Regions from separate parts of the Homo sapiens genome. Here all the other regions are linked to region 6. The links are contacts of gene promoters, found by promoter capture Hi-C in blood cells and fetal thymus (Javierre and others, 2016). All regions are on one chromosome and are shown on one strand. Each heading gives the region's core, a stretch centred on a gene start or on the middle of the fragment in contact. The rest is flanking DNA. Distances are from core to core; before and after follow the strand shown.

Region 1 (2,700 bases), core at 92-2,591, 7.0 Mb before region 6:
GTGCTATTTTATACTGGAATAATCTGAGATATACAAAGGCCCTGAGTACAAATATGATAACATGGTTACATATTTGAGGATGTAATATCAGAGAGAGCCCAGTGTGCCTAGGGCAGAGGAAATGAGGTGAATATGGTAAGAGATAAGGTTCTTCCATTTATTTCATTTCAGGAGTTGGTGACCTTCAGAGATGTGGCTGTAGACTTCTCCCAAGAGGAATGGGATTGTCTGGATTCTTCTCAAAGACATCTGTACAGTAATGTGATGCTAGAGAACTACAGGATCTTGGTATCACTGGGTAAGGATATCTTCTTGCAAAACTGAGCTTCTGCTCAAAAGGGGCTCTTTGCTACCACTATTGTGAATTTTTGGATAATATCTGCAAAATTTGGCTGAATGTCTGCTGCCTATGCCAAACAAATGGCTTAGTGTTTGTGGATTTGGCAGTGAACATATTCTTGGCCTGTGCCTGAAGCTTCATCTTCCTTATCCTTCTAATACATGTCCTTTACACATTTCTCTTTTTGCTTACTGTAAACTCCCTTTTCCCTGATGAGCTAAGGATTGAATGTGAGTTCTGGAATATCCACAGCATGACAAAACTCTACTTTTTTTTTTCGTATTTGCAGGACTTTGCTTTTCCAAACCAAGTGTGATATTATTGTTGGAACAAGGAAAAGCACCCTGGATGGTGAAGAGAGAGCTGACAAAAGGCTTGTGCTCAGGTTAGTGAAGAGGAAATTGGCAAAAATCTTTGCACGTGACAGCTCAGCTTGACTCAAAGGTATCACCTCTTCACTCTTCAGGCTTCCAAATTCTTCTCAAATGTTCTAGGTTTTCATAAAAATTTGGGGCCATTTAGGATGTTCTCCCACATTTGTTATTTTTAATTATTTCCCTTCTCTTACTTTCCTATCTCCTTTCTAACAAGTCCCATCCCCTCTCAGTTTCATAAGCCTCTCAGTCTTTAAAAAATCTTGTAGTAGTCTTATAAACTTTTTTTTTTTTTTTTTTTTTTGTGACAGAGTCTCGCTCTGTCACCCAGGCTGGAGTGCAGTGGTGCAGTCTCGGCTCACTGCAAGCTCCGCCTCCCGGGTTCAAGCAATTCTCCTGATTCAGCCTTCCCAGGAGCTGGAATTACAGGCACATGCCACCACGCCCAGCTAATTTTTGTATTTTTAGTAGAGACAGGGTTTCTCCATGTTAGGCTGGTCTCAAACTCCTGACCTCACGTGATCTGCCTGCCTCAGCCTTCCAAAGTGCTGGCATTACAGGCATGAACCACTGTGCCTGGCCTCTTATAAATTTTTGAGCTCTACAGAGCATCAGAAGTGTAGGCAGCCTTGGGGACTGAGTCCTCAACCTGAGGGATCTGATGCTATCTCCAGGTAGACAGTATCAAAATAGAGCTGAGGTAGAGGACACCCACTGCAGAATTCATTGCTTGCTTGTTGGTGGAGAGAAACCCCCACATTCAGTCACAGAAGCCTTCTGTGTTTATTGTTGTGGTGCGAGAGAAAAGGAAAAACAGGTTGCATGTGTGATTTTTCCTAAGGTGCTCATTGTGGGGGAGGTTGTCGTGTGTGTGTGTGTGTGTGTGTGTGTGTGTGTGTGTGTGTGTGTATTTGTAACTTTTTTTTTTTTTTTTGAGACAGAGTCTCGCTCTGTTGCCCAGGCTGGAGTACAGTGGCATGATCTCGGCTCACTGCAACCTCTGCCTCCTGGGTTCAAGTGATTCTCCTGCCTCAGCCTCCCCAGTAACTGGAACTACAGGCACCCACCACCACGCCTGGCTAATTTTTTTGTATTTTTAGTAGAGACGAGGTTTCACCATGTTGGCCACGCTGGTCTCCAACTCCTGATCTCAGGTGATCCGCCAGCCTCAGCCTTCCAAAGTGCTGGGATTACAGACGTGAGCCACTGCACCCAGCCTGTAGCTTATGTTTTTGATACTTTAAGAAACCTTTCTATGTTCTGAGTTCATATAGATATCTGAAAATAGTCTTTTAAAGATTGTCCTTTTATATGTAGGTCCATAATCCAATTGGAACTTATTTTTGAGGATTATTTTAAATAAGAATTTAATTTCTGTATCTTATGGAAAACCAAAGGTCCCAGATATTTTTTGAATAAGTGTTCCCTCTGCCTGTTTTTCTGAATGTTACCTCTTAATATACCAGGTTTTAGTCTATATATGGGTTTGACTTTAAGCTTTATTCAGTTTCATTGATCTCTGTTTCCTTATACCAGTACCACACTGTCTTAATAAAAATAGTTTATTAGAAGGATAATTATCTGCTAGGGAAAATCTCTACAGCTTGTTTAAATTCTTTAGAATTTCTTGTTTGCCCTTTGGACATCAATATAAAGTTTAGGGTCAACTTGTAAATTTCTATCAGAAAACAACAAAATGCTGTTAACTTTTGATTCAAATTTTAACTTTTGATTCAAATTTTATTTATTCTGTAATCAATTCTGGAAATTTTAAAAATTCATTAACATGGTATAGCTCTCCATTTATTTAGGTTTTTTCACTTTTTTCAGTGTTTTATAATTTTCTCCAAAAAAGGCTTTGCACATCTTCTGTTAGATTAAATTGTAAACATTAAACATATTAGTTTTGTTGCTGTGTTAAATGTTATCTATATTTTCTGTTTGTTGCTCATATATAGAAATGAAATTAACTTCGTATGCATTGGC
Region 2 (2,700 bases), core at 12-2,511, 7.1 Mb after region 6:
GGAAATGGTGTTTCTGGAAGCTGGCCACGTATGGGTACATGAGATAGTGGAGACAGTGTACAGTTTAGAACAAGGCAGATGTGGGGCTGATTCCCTGTTTTTCCATTTACAGACTGAGTAACCTTCAGGCAAATTATGTAACAGCACACAGCCTCATTATCCTCATCCTCAAAATGGGTATGATAATGCCCATGATATTTAGCTGACAATTAAATTGACAACTTTCTTTTTTTAATTCATATTTATCACGTGCCAGGCAGGCACTGAGGACTTGACAAGCTTCATCTTGGTTAAGTTTCCCAACATCTGTGATAAATACCTGCATTTTCATTTTGGAAACTACAACTAAAGTAATATTTTCATATTCTCACAGTGAAAATGTGGCAAAGCTGCAATGAATTCACCATTTAGTCCAGACTCAGTCTTTATTTTTAACCCTGACTAATAACTAGAGTTGGGCTTTCTGAACTTTGTCTACTCCAATGTCTGACACAGTGACTTCACCTCAGTGCCCTCAGGAAATATTTGTGGAGTGAATGTTGAATGAGTGACCATGTACTCATTGCTTTTCCAAGGCTTCTGCAGAACCCCCAGGTCAGGCCACATCATTGAGGCTGCAGGATCTCTCTTCATAGCCCAGTACGACTCTCCGCCGTGTCCCTGGTTGGAAAATCCAAACACCTATCCAGCTTCTGGCTCCTGGGAAAAGTGGAGTTGTCAGCAAGAGAGACCGAGAGTAGAAGCCCAGAGTGGAGATGCCTGCTGATGTGAATTTATCCCAGAAGCCTCAGGTCCTGGGTCCAGAGAAGCAGGATGGATCTTGCGAGGTAAACAGGGGCAGCCCTGGGGATAGTTCTCCAGAACGTGAGGGCAGACACAGGATGCAGCAGGTCTGGGCTCCCTGCTCCTGAGTCAGTCTTGAGCCTCCTGTCAAGCGAGGACCACAGAGGCTGATGTTTCCACATTCATAGGCTATCTGTGTTCTAGAGGAAACCATGAACTGGCTGATAAAAGAGGATAGTAGAGGGTTGGCCTTGGGTCAAGAAAGAAGAAACTGTAGTCCCTGGTCTGATCAGAAGCCCCAGTCATAGGATGGAAAAGCTGACTCTTTCCTGCTAAGCACTGGTTCTGCTCCTTCATCCACCACTGGGTCTTTGAAAAATTTCAAGTGGTCCCCCCCACCAAATTCCTTGCTTGGTCCATGGGGTTTGGCCCGTTTTTCCTCTGTTCTCATAAGGTGCGGCAAAATCTCCTTCCTTTGTAATTTAAATAGTCACAGGGAGGTAGAGTGAGAAGAGGCTTTTAAGGACCATGTGAAGAGGCTTTTAAACACTTTTTCCTGTTTAAAAAGGTGAACAAAAAATGCTGGAAAACAGTGTTTCCAGATTGCCCACAGATAGAAATAGTCAGGATTTGGTAACAAGAAATCAGAATTCTTGGTATAGTCAAGATTTCCTGAAATCCTAAATTATTCTGTGTATCTCTTGATGCTTTATTTACAAGTCTTTAAATAGTATGTGACTATAATAGTAAACAGTGTACCATTGTTCTGTGATGGGTTTATAACCAAATTTACAGAGATGTTCTGTTTTTTAAAAAAAGTATAATAAATATGTGTGTTATTATCCTGAACCAATATATTGTGAGATTATATATTTCAGTAACCTGTTAAAATCATCTCAACCTGCTAGAAACATTTGATAATAGAAAGTATTAAAAGAAGGGAACATTAACACAAAATAAATTGCACATATAAATCATTTTCAAAATTGTAAATACCCCAAATATTTAAAAGTCGTTCTTAAAAGAAAAATTGAAACATACAAGTTTAGGTGGGGCACAGTGGCTCATGCACTTTGGGAGGCCGAGGCGGGCGGATCACTTGAGCCCAGGAGTTGGAGACCAGCCTGGGCAACATGGCGAGACTCTACAAAAATACAAAAATTAGCCAGGTGTGGTGGCATGCACCTGTAGTCCCAGCTACTGAGTACGTTGACGTGGGAGGATCACCTGAGCTTGAGGCGGTCAAGGTTGCAGTGAGCTGCAATCATGACACTACACTCCAGCCTGGGCAATAGAGTGAGACCCTGTCTCAAAACAAAACAAGTTTAAAACATGAAATTGTCTAAGTCTTTGTGACAGCAGTGCAGATGCACAAACGTTTCTCTCATTTGCATTGATGTTGGTCAACTTGCGTGTTCAGAACATCTTCAAGTTTAGCGTTTTAGGACACATGTTCAATATAAGCTTTTTTCCTTTTTTAACAATGAAATTTTTTTTCTGCTTGACCTGATTTCCAGTTTATCATTTGAATCAATACTGCTGTCGCTAATTCAGATTTTCCATCAGTGTCTGAATTCATGTCAGAGTATATCCCAGTACCATGCACATTATCTTCTCTTTGTGGTGTGTATTTCCCTCTGCTCTGGACAGTACTATTTTTATTTTGTTATTTTTATCTTTTCTAATGTGATGGAAATAAAGATAGTATAGTGTTTTAATTTGCATTACTTTGTTTACAAACAGGCTTTTTTTTCATAATTTTATTGGTCAATTACTTGTCTTTAGTGAGTTACTTTTTCTTACCTTTTGATTTATATTTTGGTTTGGTTTAGCCTCCGGATTTTTAGAGAGGTTTTTTTTTTTTTTTTTTTTTTTTTGAGACGGAGTCTCGCTCTGAAGCGCAGGCTGGAGTGCAGT
Region 3 (2,700 bases), core at 27-2,526, 7.6 Mb before region 6:
GCTATTTTATTATATCAGTAATGGAGCTTCCCCCCTTTAAAACTGCTGCACCAGGAAGATACAACCTTGTTATCACAATTTAAAGAGAAAATGAGACTTGGAGGTTCAGATTCCTCCACAGTCATAGTATCAGCTACCCACGCAGTGACCCACATTCAGGTGATTACACACACTCATACACAGATCCATACACGATCTTGCCCCCCCCACCTCCACACACTCAATATGACCTCCCCACGCCCAAAGCTGCACACATCTTGACCTCACTTCTCTCACACACACACCAATCTGACCCGCACGCGGTTTCTTTCACTCAACTACCCAGACACCCCTCATCCCACCAGCACAAGCAGGCCCACCGCGGTCTCACACACACTCGAGCCTTCCTTTGCCCAGTCTCACATGCATGACTGGGATCGCGGATTTGTCCCCTTCCGACTCCCCATGCTGGTTCGGTCCCAGACGCTCAGGTGCCACATTGGGGTGCGCTCTCCCGGCTCCTCCACACGCTACGCAGCTGCCCGCCTCAAGAGCGTCTGCGTGCTTCCAGCGTTAAGTGGAATTCCAAGCAGCCTCCGGGGCACAGTTAGTCTGGTCACTGCGGCCAGACTGCCGCCTCAGGACCCAGAGAACGCAGCACACTTTAGTTGGGCCCATCTATCCCCGGCGAGGCTTGGACTACGTTTCCCAGGAGACCCTGCGGTCCAGTATGTCTCCCGAGGAGGGGCGGAAGCCCGGGAGCCGCCCTCTGAGGCTGGGCGGGGTGAAAGAAAGCTTGCCCCAGAGGACTTAAACAGGCAAGAAGGACTTGGTTAAAGACTATTGCAATAGTCAACTTCCAATACAACAGCAGCTGGAGATTTATAGCTAACGGGCTGGGTGAAGGAGTTAAAGGATGCTAAATTACTAAGAGGAAGTTAAGTATCAAGAGTGGGGGGATTGTTACTAAACTGGCTTAGCTGGATTCTTGCTGAAGTGCTGTTCGCAGGCTATGGAGGAGGCCTGGCCAAGCAAAAAGGGCTCAGAGGAGCCTGACTAAAGCTTGGTCTAGGGACTCCTTGTCAGGTGAGACTCCCGGAAGGCTCCGATGGGCAGCTCACCTCAAAGAGATAGTTTTGTTGGTGCCAGAGTCCGCGCCAGGGGAATCGGGATGGCTGGGCTGTAGCTTTCGGCAACCTGTCGCTTTCTGGACTACACTTCCCAGAAGCCTCTAGGCCCAGGGCACTCTCCCGCGATAACTAGATTGTCTCTTGAGGAGTGGGCGGGATCTTCCCGCGGATTTGGGCAAGCGGCCTTGGGGCTTTGTGAGATAGCTAGGGTCGACTTGTGTGGATTCTAGTAGAACGGAGCTGACCCTATCCGAACAGGCGTAAGTGAGGCGGCTCGGAGCCTGGCGCGACAGGAACTCCCGACCTGTGTGGGCTGCGTGGGGAACAGGCTAAGGAGCGATTGTGAGGAGTGTGTACGGTTGTGACTGGGGGCGTGTGTCTGTGCGACCGTGTATGGAACTGTGAGGGCGGGGAGGAGGACTTTTTGTTTATGTTTGTGCGGGTGTGAGTAGAGTTTAATTGTGACCGGGTTGGGCACTGTGTTTGCGAGTGTGAGGTTCCTGGACCGCGGTTGTGACTGTATGTCCCCTTGGGGTGTGTGTGTGTGTGTTTACTACCATTTGCCGAACTGTGTGTAGTATGCCTTAATTTTGAGGTTTGTGGCTGCTTCCGTGTGTGTGTGTGCGCGCGCGTTGGTGATATTGTTGATGGAGGGTGCGTGTGAATTTGTTGTCATTGTGACCCCAAGGTGTATGTCACTGGGAATTTGAGAGATGCCCACGGACTCTGTGGTTGTGTCCGTGTCTACCCCCGTGGTGTGTATGAGTGTGTGATTGTGTGTTGTGTTTAGGTTTGGGGTGCCTGTGACGTTTATGTCCCTGCGGTGTGAGTGAGTTTGTGTGACTATGTGTCCGTATAGCCAATGTAGGTATGGGGAGTCTTTGTCTTTGTGACTTCAGCCATTGGAGACCCCTGTGAGCTCAGGGACAGGTTCTGCCCAGAACGGCATTGACCCTACCGTTGTCTGTGATGCCCGGATTAAGCAGGATGCCCTAGACTTCTCTGACCTTCCTCTGTAGGTGATGGGCAGTAGGGGCTGAGCAAAGATAACTTCTGACATAGTCAAACCAACTCCCTCTCAGAAGAACCTGATGTTTCCTGACTGCTTTCTCCTTCCTCAGCCCTGCCCTGCTTGGATAGAGGCCTCCGAACAGGAGTAAAGAATGGCTGTTGAACATCCACAAGGCACCTGCAAGGTAGCTTGTCCTGTCCTCTTGTTTAAGAAAAATCCCTTTTTCTTTGTCAGGACATAGTTGCTTTCCTTCTCTTGAAAATTCTTGCCTATGAGATGACCTGATCCCTGGAGTTTCCATTTTGAGAAAATGTGGTGTCTTCAAACCCCACCTCCCACACCTGATTTTCCCTTACTGATTTGTCAGATGGTTTTAATTTTTCTTTTTCTTTTTTTTTTCTTTCTTTCTTTTTTTTTTTTTTTTTTTGAGACAGAATTACAGGCGTGAGCTGCTGTGCCCGGCCTTATCCTTCTACTCTTGATGGACATTTGTCTTGTAATTTTTGGCTACTACAGGCAGTGTGACTATGATCATTTTGTGCGCATATTTTGGTACACATTTGCTTGCATTTCTTTAGA
Region 4 (2,700 bases), core at 138-2,637, 8.3 Mb before region 6:
CTACTGACGTCTCCAAAGATGCGTTTTCTAAGGAAATCACCCCGCCCCCGCTGTCGTCATTGACATAGTTTTAAATTACAAAAAGTTAAATAAAGTAATTGGGTACCAAGTTAATATCTATAAATAAATAGCCTTCTAATTTACAAATATCAGTTAGAATACATAGTTGAAGAAAACTAATATTTACAATAGCAGTAAAAAGATAAAGTATTGTGGAAGAAACTTAAAGGTTCAGAACTATTAGGAAAGAACTTTAAAATACTACTAAGGGGCATAACAAATGTGAACAAATAAATATACCATGTGACATTAAGAAGTGTGCGCAAACTTAAGTGAATGTATTAATTTACTGTGATCTTGGTCGGGTGCGGTGGCTCATGCCTGTAATCCTAGCACTTTGGGAGGCCGAGATGGGTGGATTACCTGAGATCAGGAGTTCGAGAGGAGCCTGGCCAACATGGTGAAACCCTGTCTCTACTAAAAAAAAATAAAATAAAAAAATACAAAAATTAGCCGGGCGTGGTGGCGGGCGCCTGTAATCTGAGCTACCGCGGAGGCTGAGGCAGGAAAATCGCTTGAACCTGGGAGGCGGAGGTTGCAGTGAGCCCAGATCTCGCCACTGCACTCCAGCCTGGACAAGAGCGAGATTCCGTCTCAATAATAGTAATAATGTGATCCTAATAAAAGTATGGACAGGCTTTTCTCTTTTGGAACTAGGGGAACTGATCCTAGACTTACTATGGAAAGAGACAAGCTGCAAGAGCCAGTACAGACTGAGAAAGAAAAGGCGTTGAGGTGTGGGGAGATGGGGACCCAACACATTTTAAATATAAAGCCTCAGGCCGGGCTTGGTGGCTCACACCTGTGAGCCAAGGCAGGAGGATGGCTAGAGTCCAGGAGTTAGAGACCAGCTTGGGCGACATAGTGAGATCTCCCGTAGTCCTAGCTGCTTGGGAGGCTGAGGTGGGAGGATCACTTGAGCCTAGGAGGTCAAGGCTGCAGTGAGCAGAGATCCTGGCGACAGCATTCCAGCTTGGTGGACAGCCAGTCCCTGTCTTTTTTTTTTTTTTTTTTTTTTTTTGAGATGGAGTCTCTCTCTCTTGCCCAGTCTAGAGTGCAGTGGCCCAATCTCTGCTCCCTGCAACCTCTGCCCCCCAGGTTCAAGCGATTCTCTTGGCTCAGCCTCCCGAGTAGCTGGGATTAGTTGCCTGCCACCACACCCGGCTACTTTTTTTGTATTTTTAGTAGAGACAGGGTTTTACCATGTTGGCCAGGCTGGTCTTGAACTCTTGACCTCAAGTGATCGGCCCGCCTCGGCTTCCCAAAGTGCTAGGATTACAGGCATGAACCACGGTGCCTGGCCGACCCTGTCTTAAGAAAGAAAGAAAGGAGAGAGAGAGAAGAAAGAAAAGAAAAACAGTTCATGCCCATCAGTGGGAGATTGGTGTACATCGATACAACAAAATAATACATAGCTGTACAAAAGAATGAGGAGGAAGCTCTTTATATACTGAGACAGAAATAACTTCAAAATGTATTGTTAACTGAGAGAAAGCAAGGTGCAGAATGTAGAGTATGATACACGATGCATTTGGAATAAGAAAAGGGGTAATAAGAATATGTATTTATAATCCCAGCACTTTGGGAGGCCAACGCAGGCGGATCACCTGAGGTCAGGAGTTTGAGACCAGCGTGACCAACATGGAGAAACCCCGTCTCTACTAAAAATACAAAATTAGCCAGGCGTGGCGGCACATGCCTGTTAATCCCAGCTACTTGGGAGGCTGAGGCAAGATAATTGCTTGAACCCGGGAGGCGGAGGTTGCAGTGAACAGAGATTGCGCCATTGCACTCCAACCTGGGCAACGAGAGTGAAACTCCATCTCAAAAAAAAAAAAAAAAATTCAAAAGATACATACGAAATAATAAAACTGGCTGTTGGGGTGGGGGTACTGGAATAGACAGGGCAAAGGCTTTGTATTTTTAGTAGAGACGGGGTTTCACCATGGTGACCAGGCTGGTCTCGAACTCCTGACCTCATGTGATCTGCCTGCCTCAGCCTCCCAAAGTACTGGGATTACAGGCATGAGCTAATTTTTTTTTTTTTTTTTTTAAATTAAAGGAAGACATAGGCCAAGGAGCCAGACTTCCTGTGTTAACTCCTTCCTCTGCCACTTTTTACCTTGGGGACCTCAGGTAGGTACTTAAACCTTGGGCCTCAGTTGCTCATTTCATAGTATAGAAATAATAGCAATATTTGATTCAAAGGGTGGTTGTGTAGCTCCAGAAGTTAATACATGTAAAGTTCTAAGAATAGTCCCCAGTGTGTAGTAAGTACTTGATTAATGTTAAATACTAGTACTTTTTATTACTAGCTGCAAAAAAAATGCTTCCTCAGAAAATATTATAGTCCTGTGTCTGGTAGGAATTTCTGAAAGAATAAGATATGTAGATGCACTTTTGTTATTAATATTTCTTTTTTTTTTTTGATGGAGTCTCACTGTCGCCCAGGCTGCAGTGCAGTGGCCTGATCTCGGCTCACTGCAGGCTCTGCCTCCCTGGTTCATGCCATTCTCCCGCCTCAGCCTCCTGAGTAGCTGGGACTACAGGTGCCAGCCACCACGCCTGGCTAATTTTGTTTTTGTATTTTTAGTAGAGATGGGGTTTCACCGCGTTAGCCAGGATGGTCTGGATCTCCTG
Region 5 (2,700 bases), core at 32-2,531, 7.6 Mb before region 6:
GTCCTATTTGATCTTCTCATTGATGAATCTTATCCTGTAGAAATTATTTACAGCAATGTTCTAGCTCCTACATTAGATAACAAGTTTCTTAATAAGCCTACACATTTTCTAAACTGTACAGCACCTAGCAGACTAGTGTATAAAATTAAAAAGTCAAACATTTTTATAAGACTTGCTATTTAAAAATCTTAATTCTCCACAAACTGATATTAATATTCTCATGAAAAAATAACTTGGCATTTTGATTAAGTTTCAAATGACTATATAAGCTAATTCTAAATTTTTTTTTTTTTTCTTTTGTGAGACCAAGTTTTGCTCTTGTCCCCCAGGCTGGAGTGCAATGGTGTGATCTCGGCTCACTGCAACCTCCGCCTCCCTGGTTCAAGCGATTCTCCTGCCTCAGCCTCCTGAGTAGCTGGGATTACAGGTGCCCGCCACCACACCTGGCTAATTTTTGTATTTTTAGTAAAGATGGGGTTTCACCATGTTGCCCAGGCTGGTCTTGAACTCCTGACCCCAGGTGATCCACCCACCTCGGCCTCCCAAAGTGCTGGGATTACAGGCGTGAGCCACTGCGCCCGGCCTAATACTAAAATTTACAATGAAAATGCAAAGGACTAAGCAGCAGCAGGAGAACTTGCTCTACTAGATAAGATTTATTACATGCTACAGTATTAATATAGTGTGGTATTGGCACAAGGATAGACAAATAAGCCAAAGGAACAGAATTCAGAGATAGACTCACAGAAATAGGAATACCTGATTTATGACAAAGGTAGTCCTATTTCTATTGGGGAAAAGATAGATATAGTCCTATCTCTATAGAATGGGAAAAGGACAGTCATCTCAATAAACACTAAGAAGTCAACTGGATATTCACATGGAAAAAAAATGAAATTTGACCCCTACCTCACAACACATACAAATACCAACTTCAGGAAAGTAGATCTAAATGGAAAAAGTAAAACAATAAAGCTACTAGAATATAACATAGGAAATATCTTCAAGACCTTGGGGTAGGCAATGATTCCTATCCAGGACACAAAAAAGCAACACTATAAAGAAAAAGATAACTGTGACCACATTAAAATTAATAACTTCTGTTCATCAAAAGGTACTATTAAAAGAGTAAAGGGCAAGGTATAAAGTGGTGGGAGATATTTACATCATGTATAACCAAACACAGGGCTGATACATAGAATATAATAAGAATTCTTTGAAACCAACAGGAAAAAGATAGACAACCGACTAAGTTTAGCCAAGAAACTTAAACAGGCATGTCACAGAACACACACATCAGAATAACTAAAATTAAAGGGCCTGGCAATAATAACTGGTAAGAATGTAAGAATGCAGAGCAATAGTAACCTTCATACTGCTAGTAGAACTGCAAATTGGTATAACTACTTTGGAAAATTGGTATATTTACTAAAGTTGAACACACACATATCCTATTGCTCAGTAATTCCACTCCTATGTATATACCTAAAAGAAATGTGTACATACATTTACCAAAAGTTATACACAGGAACGTTCACAGCAGCATTATGTTTAATAGCTAAAAACTGCAAACAAACCAACTGTCAACAGAAGGACACTTATAGTAATTAATAATATATAAAGCATAATTTAAAAAATATTCATAGAATGAAGCAGGACACAGTGGGTTACGCCTGTAATCCCAGCACTTTGGGAGGCTGAGGCGGGTGGATCACCTGAAGTCAGCAGTTTGAAACCAGCCTGGCCAACATGTTGAAACCCTGTCTCTACTAAAAATACAAAAAATTAGCTGGGCGTGGTGGCGCAGGCCTGTAGTTCCAGCTACTCGGGAGGCTGAGACAGGAGAATCGCTTGAACCCAGGAGGCAGAGGTTGCAGTGAGCTGAGATCACACCACTGCACTCCAGCCTGGGCAACAGAGCAAGACTCCATCTCAAAAAAAAAAAAAAAAAAAAAAAATGTATATATATATATATATGTATATATTCATAGAATGAAATATAACATAGCCAATAAGAATGAACTAACACCAGATATATGCAGCACCATAGATATGTCACATAAACATAATGTTGAGCAAAAAAAGCCAAAGGCAAAAGACTAAATACTGTGTGATTGCGTCTATACAAAGTTCAAAAATAGGCAAAACGAATCCATGGTGCCAAATGTCAGGATGGTATTTATTTTGAGAGAGGAAAAAGAGGCTGGTGATTGGGAAGGGGCAGAGAAGGGGTTCTGAGGTGCTAGTAATGTTCTATTTATCGTCCTAGTAGTGGTTTCACCATTCTCAATTTCACCATACTATGCAATCATAGTCATGCAGTTTTATGTGTGTATGTTATACTTCAATTTTGTTTTCAAGTAAGAAATAATCAAATGTTTGATAAATGAAAGAATGAGCTTTTAAATCCAGAACAAACTGGTCAAAGATGTTAAATAGCTGAAAGTAGATAAAATGAAAACAAGCACAGGGAAAGAAAAAGACACACATGCACTTACATCTATTTCTCAGGGTGGGAATGTCTACTGTTATACAAATCTAAACGTAGCGTATCATAGGAAGGAATGAAACTAAAATGTGACTAGAATAATTATAGCATAATTGTAGCCAGGGAGGTACTTGCTATATTGGACTAGGGAAAAAGTATGAGAAAAAAAAAAAAAGTGGGATAGCTTATATGGAAGAGGCTTCAGGCCTTTA
Region 6 (2,700 bases), core at 22-2,521:
TCATGACGGCCTGGGTGTTGTGCAGTCAGCTCTTCCCGGGACCAAATCTGCAGCACAGGCTCTGTCCCTCTACTAACCTGCACATTCTCACGCCTGCAAATAGCGTACCCAAGTAAAGGTCTCAGCAACACCTGCTTCATAACGATGCTGGCAACATACTGCTTCCTCCCCAGCTACCAATTTGATGGCAGCTGTTGCAGCTCTGTCCTTCCTGGACTTAAATTCTGTATCTCCAACCCGGAGTCTCTGCCCATCTTGAATGCTCTAGAGCTCTGCACTATCCTACATAGGTCCCTACTATCAGTTCAAGTTTCTGTTTTCCATTCAGACACCCCCAGGACGTGCAGGGGGCCCTCTGCCCAGAACCTGTTTCTAGGCCCTGATACCCTCCTTCAGCCTGGGAGTTTGCTGCCCATGGGTAATTCCCACCAAGGGTTCACTAGCAACACTGCCTCTTCTGGCACAAGAATCTGCAACTCCAATCTGGTCTCTCCACCAACCACAGCGCCCCCAGACCTTGGAGAAGCGCGTTGTCTGCTCTAGGGGCCCAGAGCCACCTGCTCGGAATCTTACCTACAACCTTTTGCTTCCTACCCAAATACCTGATCAAGAGTAAAGGGACAGTGGCACAGCCCCTCCTCTCCAGAAACCACAATCTGCAATGGAGCACTCCATCAACCCGGACATCCTCAGGCCTCCACTAAATAAGCCCGGCATTGGAGGAGGGGAGTTCTCAAGATGTCCCCTTACATCAATGCATGTGCCCTGTGTTCCAGCAACCTGGGCATCCTCAGGCCCCAGACAAGAGCACCACCTGACCAAGCACCCGCGCATGCACGCAGAGGACAGTCGCGGAATATACAGCTGTATCAGTAACTCCATCAACCCCGGTGACCCGAGGCTAAAGCGCCACCCGCACAGATACCAGGTCTCCCCGCTACACTCACCACCGCTTCCAGCTTCCCGCGTAGACCCTGCGCATGCGCGCATCGGACACCAAGCGCTGCCCCACGCCCCTACCAACCTGGGCGTCCGCTGGCCCGCAGCCCAGGCTGGGCCTGTCACCGCCTCAGTGCCTAGCACGGCTCTGCGGCAGGACGAACTCGGGTTAGGCAACCCCCTGCCCCGATTCTGCAACACGGCCGACTCGGGTTAAGCTAGTTCGGTCCCCTCTCCTAGTCAGCATCCGCAAGGCCGCTGGGGGTTAAGTCTGAAGGGCCGAGCTGCTCGGCGACAGCAAGCGTCCGCGCGCGGGACAATGGCTGCTCTTGTGGCCGAACCCGGAAGTGCACTTGGGCTCGGAGAGCCAGAACTACAATTCCCAGAAGCCTCCGCGGCGCGGACGGTCAGTAGGCGGGGTTCCGGCTTCTCCAAGGAAGTGGGGCGGGGGACCGGGCCAGAAGCTAAGAGGGCGTCCTCGTCCGGGGCCCGGGGGGGCGCCACACCTGTGCATGTGCAGGTCTAGGGGGAGCACTAAGACCAGCCGCGGCGCCGGGAGGCCGAGGCCAGTGCAGCGACGCATGGGGAGTCGCTCTGGCGTGACGTCAGAATCCAATAGAAATGGCGGGGACCCTTTCTGGGTGCCCCCTGCCTGTCAGACGCTGCGCGCGACCCCTTGTCTCCTCTAGTCCTAGGGGAAACCTGTGAGACAGTTGCGACATCCCCATTTTACAGTGGAGGGAGCGTCTACCGAACCCTTCAGGAATCTATGTTTTTACATTTAATAATACTAAAATATAATCATTTTATTTTTAAATTTTGAGTTCTTTCTCTGCCTATAAGGCCTGAAGGATCTGTTCCCCCCACCTCTCCCCTTTTCTCTGTTTTTGTTTTGTTTTGTTTTGTTGTTTTGAGACGGAATTTCGCTCTTGTCGCCCAGGCTGGAGGGCAATAGCGCGATCTCGGCTCACTGCAACCTCCACCTCCCGGATTCAAGCGATTCTCCTGCCTCAGCCTCCTGAATAGCTGGGATTACAGGCGCCAGCCACCACGCCCGGCTAATTTTTGTATTTTTAGTAGAGACGGGGTTTCACCACGTTGGCCAGGTTAGTCTCCAACTCCTGACCTCAGGTGATCCGCCCTCGGCCTCCCAAAGTGCTGGGATTACAGGCGTAGTCCCCTTTTCTCTTTGCCCTCATTTCTTGCCCATTTGCTTGGCACATTTTCCCCATTCTCCAACAGATCCAGCAGACTCCAGCCCCTGGTCGTTTGCAGGTGCTCTTTGCACTCCCTAGCAGCCTCTCCTGAGGGATTCATTTGGCTCTCACCGTCTGGTAATTAGGGGAATATCATCTTCTCATGAGGCATTGCCCCACCACCCGTTGTGAACTTGCAAGCAAACGCTTCCCTCCCCACATGCTCTGTGCCTCCCCCTTCATCTTTTATTTTTTTCTCTAAAGAACTTTTCACTATCTAGCACACTATATATTTTAATTATTTATTTGGTCTACTGTCCGACCTACCACTACGATGTCAATTCCATAAGGAAAAGCATTTTATCGATGTTGATCACTGCTGCATCCCCAACACCTAAAAAAAAAAAAAAGAGAGAGACCTGGCACATAATAGATGCTCAATAAATATTCGTTGGCTAAATAAAGGTTCCTGTCTCTGTATTAAACACTTTAATATTTCATTACCAAGCCCAATCAGCCTATGAGGTAGTTGTGTTAATTTTCATCCTACCAGGGAGGTAGCTGA
Region 7 (2,700 bases), core at 89-2,588, 6.9 Mb before region 6:
ACTCAGTCTCTGTCTAGGGCAGAGATGGAACAGACATGAAGTTCCTAGAGGGGGAGGTACTTTACCATCCTTTGTCAGATCTGAGGTGTAATGAAACCAAGAATGGAATCATTTGACTACACGTAGGAAAGCACTGCAGTTTTCCACAGATCCTGTGTCTGTAGATAAATGCAGTTTAATATTGATTGGCCTCAGTTTCAGTATGTGGTTGGGGCCTGCTTATAGAGAGGCCAGGGGATCTTTCCTGAGAATCTCTGAGGTGAAAACCCATAGTAAGACGCATTTTGTGGTTAAACGGAATGTGCTAGTCTTGACATCAGTATGATTCTGGTTCATTACATCAATATTCTTAATCTCAAGAAAAAAGAAGGTGTGTAGTACTTATAAGAAAATCATCCAGATACATAAATATTAGTTAATTGTATTCTCCCAGATTTGCAGTGAGGTACTATGGCCTCGAACTTCTGAGTTCACCACTGTACTCCAGCGTGGGCAACAGAGTGAGATCTCCGTCTCGATTGATCAATCGATTGATCGATAGATAGATAGATAGATAGATAAACTTAAAGGAAAAAGAGGATATAGGATTCTTTTTTATGTATTAAGTGGTTTTTCTTAAAGTATTTATTATTAAGTAATAATTTATTGAGAATTTTTGAGGTAGAAATATAGTTTATTTGCTTGTATCCACTGTTTAATTGAATTGGGAAACATTTATTTGTTCCCAGAAATGTTTTGAGTAGTTAAAGAACCCCATAATATACAGGAAATTTTGCATATAGTGGCTGGATTCTTCAAGAAAATGAGGTGACTCTGCTTTAGAACACCTGGTTCCTTTCTTCTATCTTTATCATAAGCTTTCAGCCCCAGCCTAGAGTTTAGTATAGTACCCCTTGCTGCAATGAAACCTTTTATCTCCTTTTCTTCTTTTTAAAATACTTGTTCTGTAATTTCACCAGTAATATGTTGGTTTATGGTTTCAGGCATTGGTGACGTTCAGGGATGTGGCTATAGACTTCTCTCAGAAGGAATGGGAGTGCCTGGACACTACCCAGAGGAAATTGTACAGAGATGTGATGTTGGAGAATTATAATAACTTGGTCTCACTGGGTAAGGTCACCTATGTCAAATAATGTAGACTCTGTTATCTGAAATAGTAGCTTTCTCTTCCACAAATTTAGGACTAATTATTAAGAAACTAGCTGAATTTCTTCTCTCTTCCTCAAGGAATGGACTGAACTTTGATGGTTTGTGAATGGCACTTCCACTAAATGCTTTCATTTTCACCATACCTCACTGAGCCTCATGAAATGTTCCTTAATCCATTACTGTAGTTACTTCTTCCTTAATAGTTAAGAGACTGGATTTGAATTTTGGGGCATTTACTCCAAAGCCAATGTCAATGAAATCAGGTTTCACATTGCATTTGAGCTCAGAATTGCTATGGATGCTCTGTTATTTGGTAACATGCCTATAAGGATAACAGCCCTACCCAGGGTCTACAATTTACATGTCATGGTTCAGACCAATAACATTGATTTAAAATTAAAGTGAATGCATTCTACTTCCTAAAACAAATATTTTCTCTTACTGATTTGTGATTGAAAATTTTACCTATTGGACATTATGCTCAGTACCTGGGTGGTGGGATCAAATGTACCTCAAACCTCAGCATCACACAATATCCCCAGGTAACAAACCTGCACGTATGGCCCTGTATCTAAAATAAAAGTTGAAATTAGTTAAAGTAAAATAAAATTTATTAACTTAGCATCTAACTTTAAATGAATATCTTAGCAAGAACCTAGAAATATTTTAGGAAGCTTCTTGTTTTGCTCTAAGTAAATTAACAACAACAAAAATAATAATAGCTAATAGAGTGCTTACTATATACCAGGCATCATTCTAAGTACTAGCTACAAGATACAAAAGAAAAAAAGAAAATAAAAGGTACTACTTTTATTTTCATTTTACAGATGAAAAAACTGAGGCCCAAATAATTTAACCAGTTTGTTTACAATCATTAGTCAATAGGTAGTAGAGTAGAATTTGGACCCACATAGTCTGGCTTCAGAGGCTATGCCCTCAATAACTACTGCCTCTCAATAGAGCCAGTCTGTATGAGTTTTAATTCCAAAATGAATTAAAATTCTCCTAGATGAATTTTAATTCCCCTGCCCATCAAGTTTCTTTATTCTCTGGGATCCTGAGGTTACACTAAGTTGAATATTCTTTAATCCTGTCAGTTTTTTCCGAAGTCTTCATCGAAATCATGTTGATCCATATAAATTTAACCAAGTCTCAAAATGTTTCTGAATGTGCAATGTTTTATTTCTATATATTCTTTTATTTCTTTCTTGTAAGCAGGATATTCTGGCTCAAAGCCAGATGTGATTACCTTACTGGAGCAAGGGAAAGAGCCCTGCGTGGTGGCGAGGGATGTGACAGGAAGACAGTGCCCCGGTGAGTTGAGAGTTCATCAGGCAGATGGAAGCCCTCATTGCCAGTCACGGCCAGCTGGTGAGGGAGCATATACAGGCTTTGCATGCTGTTTAGGGAGTTACTCTCAGAGGCCTCAGGCCTTTGGAGTAAAGGTTAAGACAGGGAAGAAAACAGATCATCTGAGCATGAACTATCAAAAGAACCTCATCTTGGCTCCTACTTACCACCTGTCTTTGTTTTTGTTTCCCCTCGTATTAC

What was found. Contacts are between HindIII fragments. The CHiCAGO score rates a contact against its expected background, and 5 or more counts as called.
Region 1: a contact is called between a fragment that was not itself captured here and the fragment with the promoter of ZNF180 in region 6, in 2 of 17 cell types (non-activated CD4 T cells and total B cells). The highest score is 5.6, in non-activated CD4 T cells.
Region 2: a contact is called between a fragment that was not itself captured here and the fragment with the promoter of ZNF180 in region 6, in 2 of 17 cell types (non-activated CD4 T cells and activated CD4 T cells). The highest score is 9.9, in non-activated CD4 T cells.
Region 3: a contact is called between the fragment with the promoter of ZNF345 here and the fragment with the promoter of ZNF180 in region 6, in 3 of 17 cell types (total CD4 T cells, monocytes and activated CD4 T cells). The highest score is 12.2, in total CD4 T cells.
Region 4: a fragment that was not itself captured here is called in contact with the fragment with the promoter of ZNF180 in region 6 in 1 of 17 cell types (non-activated CD4 T cells); the score reaches 5.1 in non-activated CD4 T cells.
Region 5: a contact is called between a fragment that was not itself captured here and the fragment with the promoter of ZNF180 in region 6, in 3 of 17 cell types (total B cells, total CD4 T cells and non-activated CD4 T cells). The highest score is 8.1, in total B cells.
Region 7: a contact is called between a fragment that was not itself captured here and the fragment with the promoter of ZNF180 in region 6, in 1 of 17 cell types (activated CD4 T cells). The highest score is 7.9, in activated CD4 T cells.

What each region holds. Positions count from the first base shown.
Region 1 is chr19:37,475,710-37,478,409 of GRCh38, forward strand. It overlaps ZNF570 (zinc finger protein 570), which reads left to right. Exons shown (of 5, transcript NM_144694.5): 3 at 172-298; 4 at 630-725. Among named protein-coding and RNA genes, the nearest start is that of ZNF570, 7.7 kb to the left of the region's middle. The HindIII fragment of the contact is 1,736 bases long and covers 474-2,209 here.
Region 2 is chr19:51,572,575-51,575,274 of GRCh38, forward strand. It overlaps ZNF175 (zinc finger protein 175), which reads left to right. Exons shown (of 5, transcript NM_007147.4): 2 at 576-827. The coding sequence starts at 756. Among named protein-coding and RNA genes, the nearest start is that of ZNF175, 2.6 kb to the left of the region's middle. The HindIII fragment of the contact is 1,968 bases long and covers 278-2,245 here.
Region 3 is chr19:36,849,600-36,852,299 of GRCh38, forward strand. ZNF345 (zinc finger protein 345) reads left to right here and starts at 1,277. Exons shown (of 3, transcript NM_001242472.2): 1 at 1,277-1,369; 2 at 2,231-2,305. It also overlaps a transcript of ZNF790 not described here. RefSeq lists an enhancer at 800-1,039. The HindIII fragment of the contact is 2,588 bases long and covers 1,040-2,700 here.
Region 4 is chr19:36,216,000-36,218,699 of GRCh38, forward strand. ZNF146 (zinc finger protein 146) reads left to right here. Exons shown (of 4, transcript NM_007145.3): 2 at 2,123-2,196. It also overlaps a transcript of ZNF565 not described here. Among named protein-coding and RNA genes, the nearest start is that of ZNF146, 2.2 kb to the left of the region's middle. The HindIII fragment of the contact is 3,004 bases long and covers 1-2,700 here.
Region 5 is chr19:36,905,154-36,907,853 of GRCh38, forward strand. All of the region lies in intron 5 of ZNF829 (zinc finger protein 829), which reads right to left. Among named protein-coding and RNA genes, the nearest start is that of ZNF829, 9.8 kb to the right of the region's middle. The HindIII fragment of the contact is 3,429 bases long and covers 1-2,700 here.
Region 6 is chr19:44,499,251-44,501,950 of GRCh38, forward strand. ZNF180 (zinc finger protein 180) reads right to left here and starts at 1,272. Exons shown (of 5, transcript NM_001278509.3): 1 at 1,025-1,272. RefSeq lists enhancers at 542-1,040, 1,028-1,077, 1,041-1,541, 1,088-1,147, 1,158-1,367 and 2 more. The HindIII fragment of the contact is 10,008 bases long and covers 1-2,700 here.
Region 7 is chr19:37,598,643-37,601,342 of GRCh38, forward strand. It overlaps ZNF540 (zinc finger protein 540), which reads left to right. Exons shown (of 5, transcript NM_001172225.3): 3 at 984-1,110; 4 at 2,368-2,463. Among named protein-coding and RNA genes, the nearest start is that of ZNF540, 5.1 kb to the left of the region's middle. The HindIII fragment of the contact is 966 bases long and covers 856-1,821 here.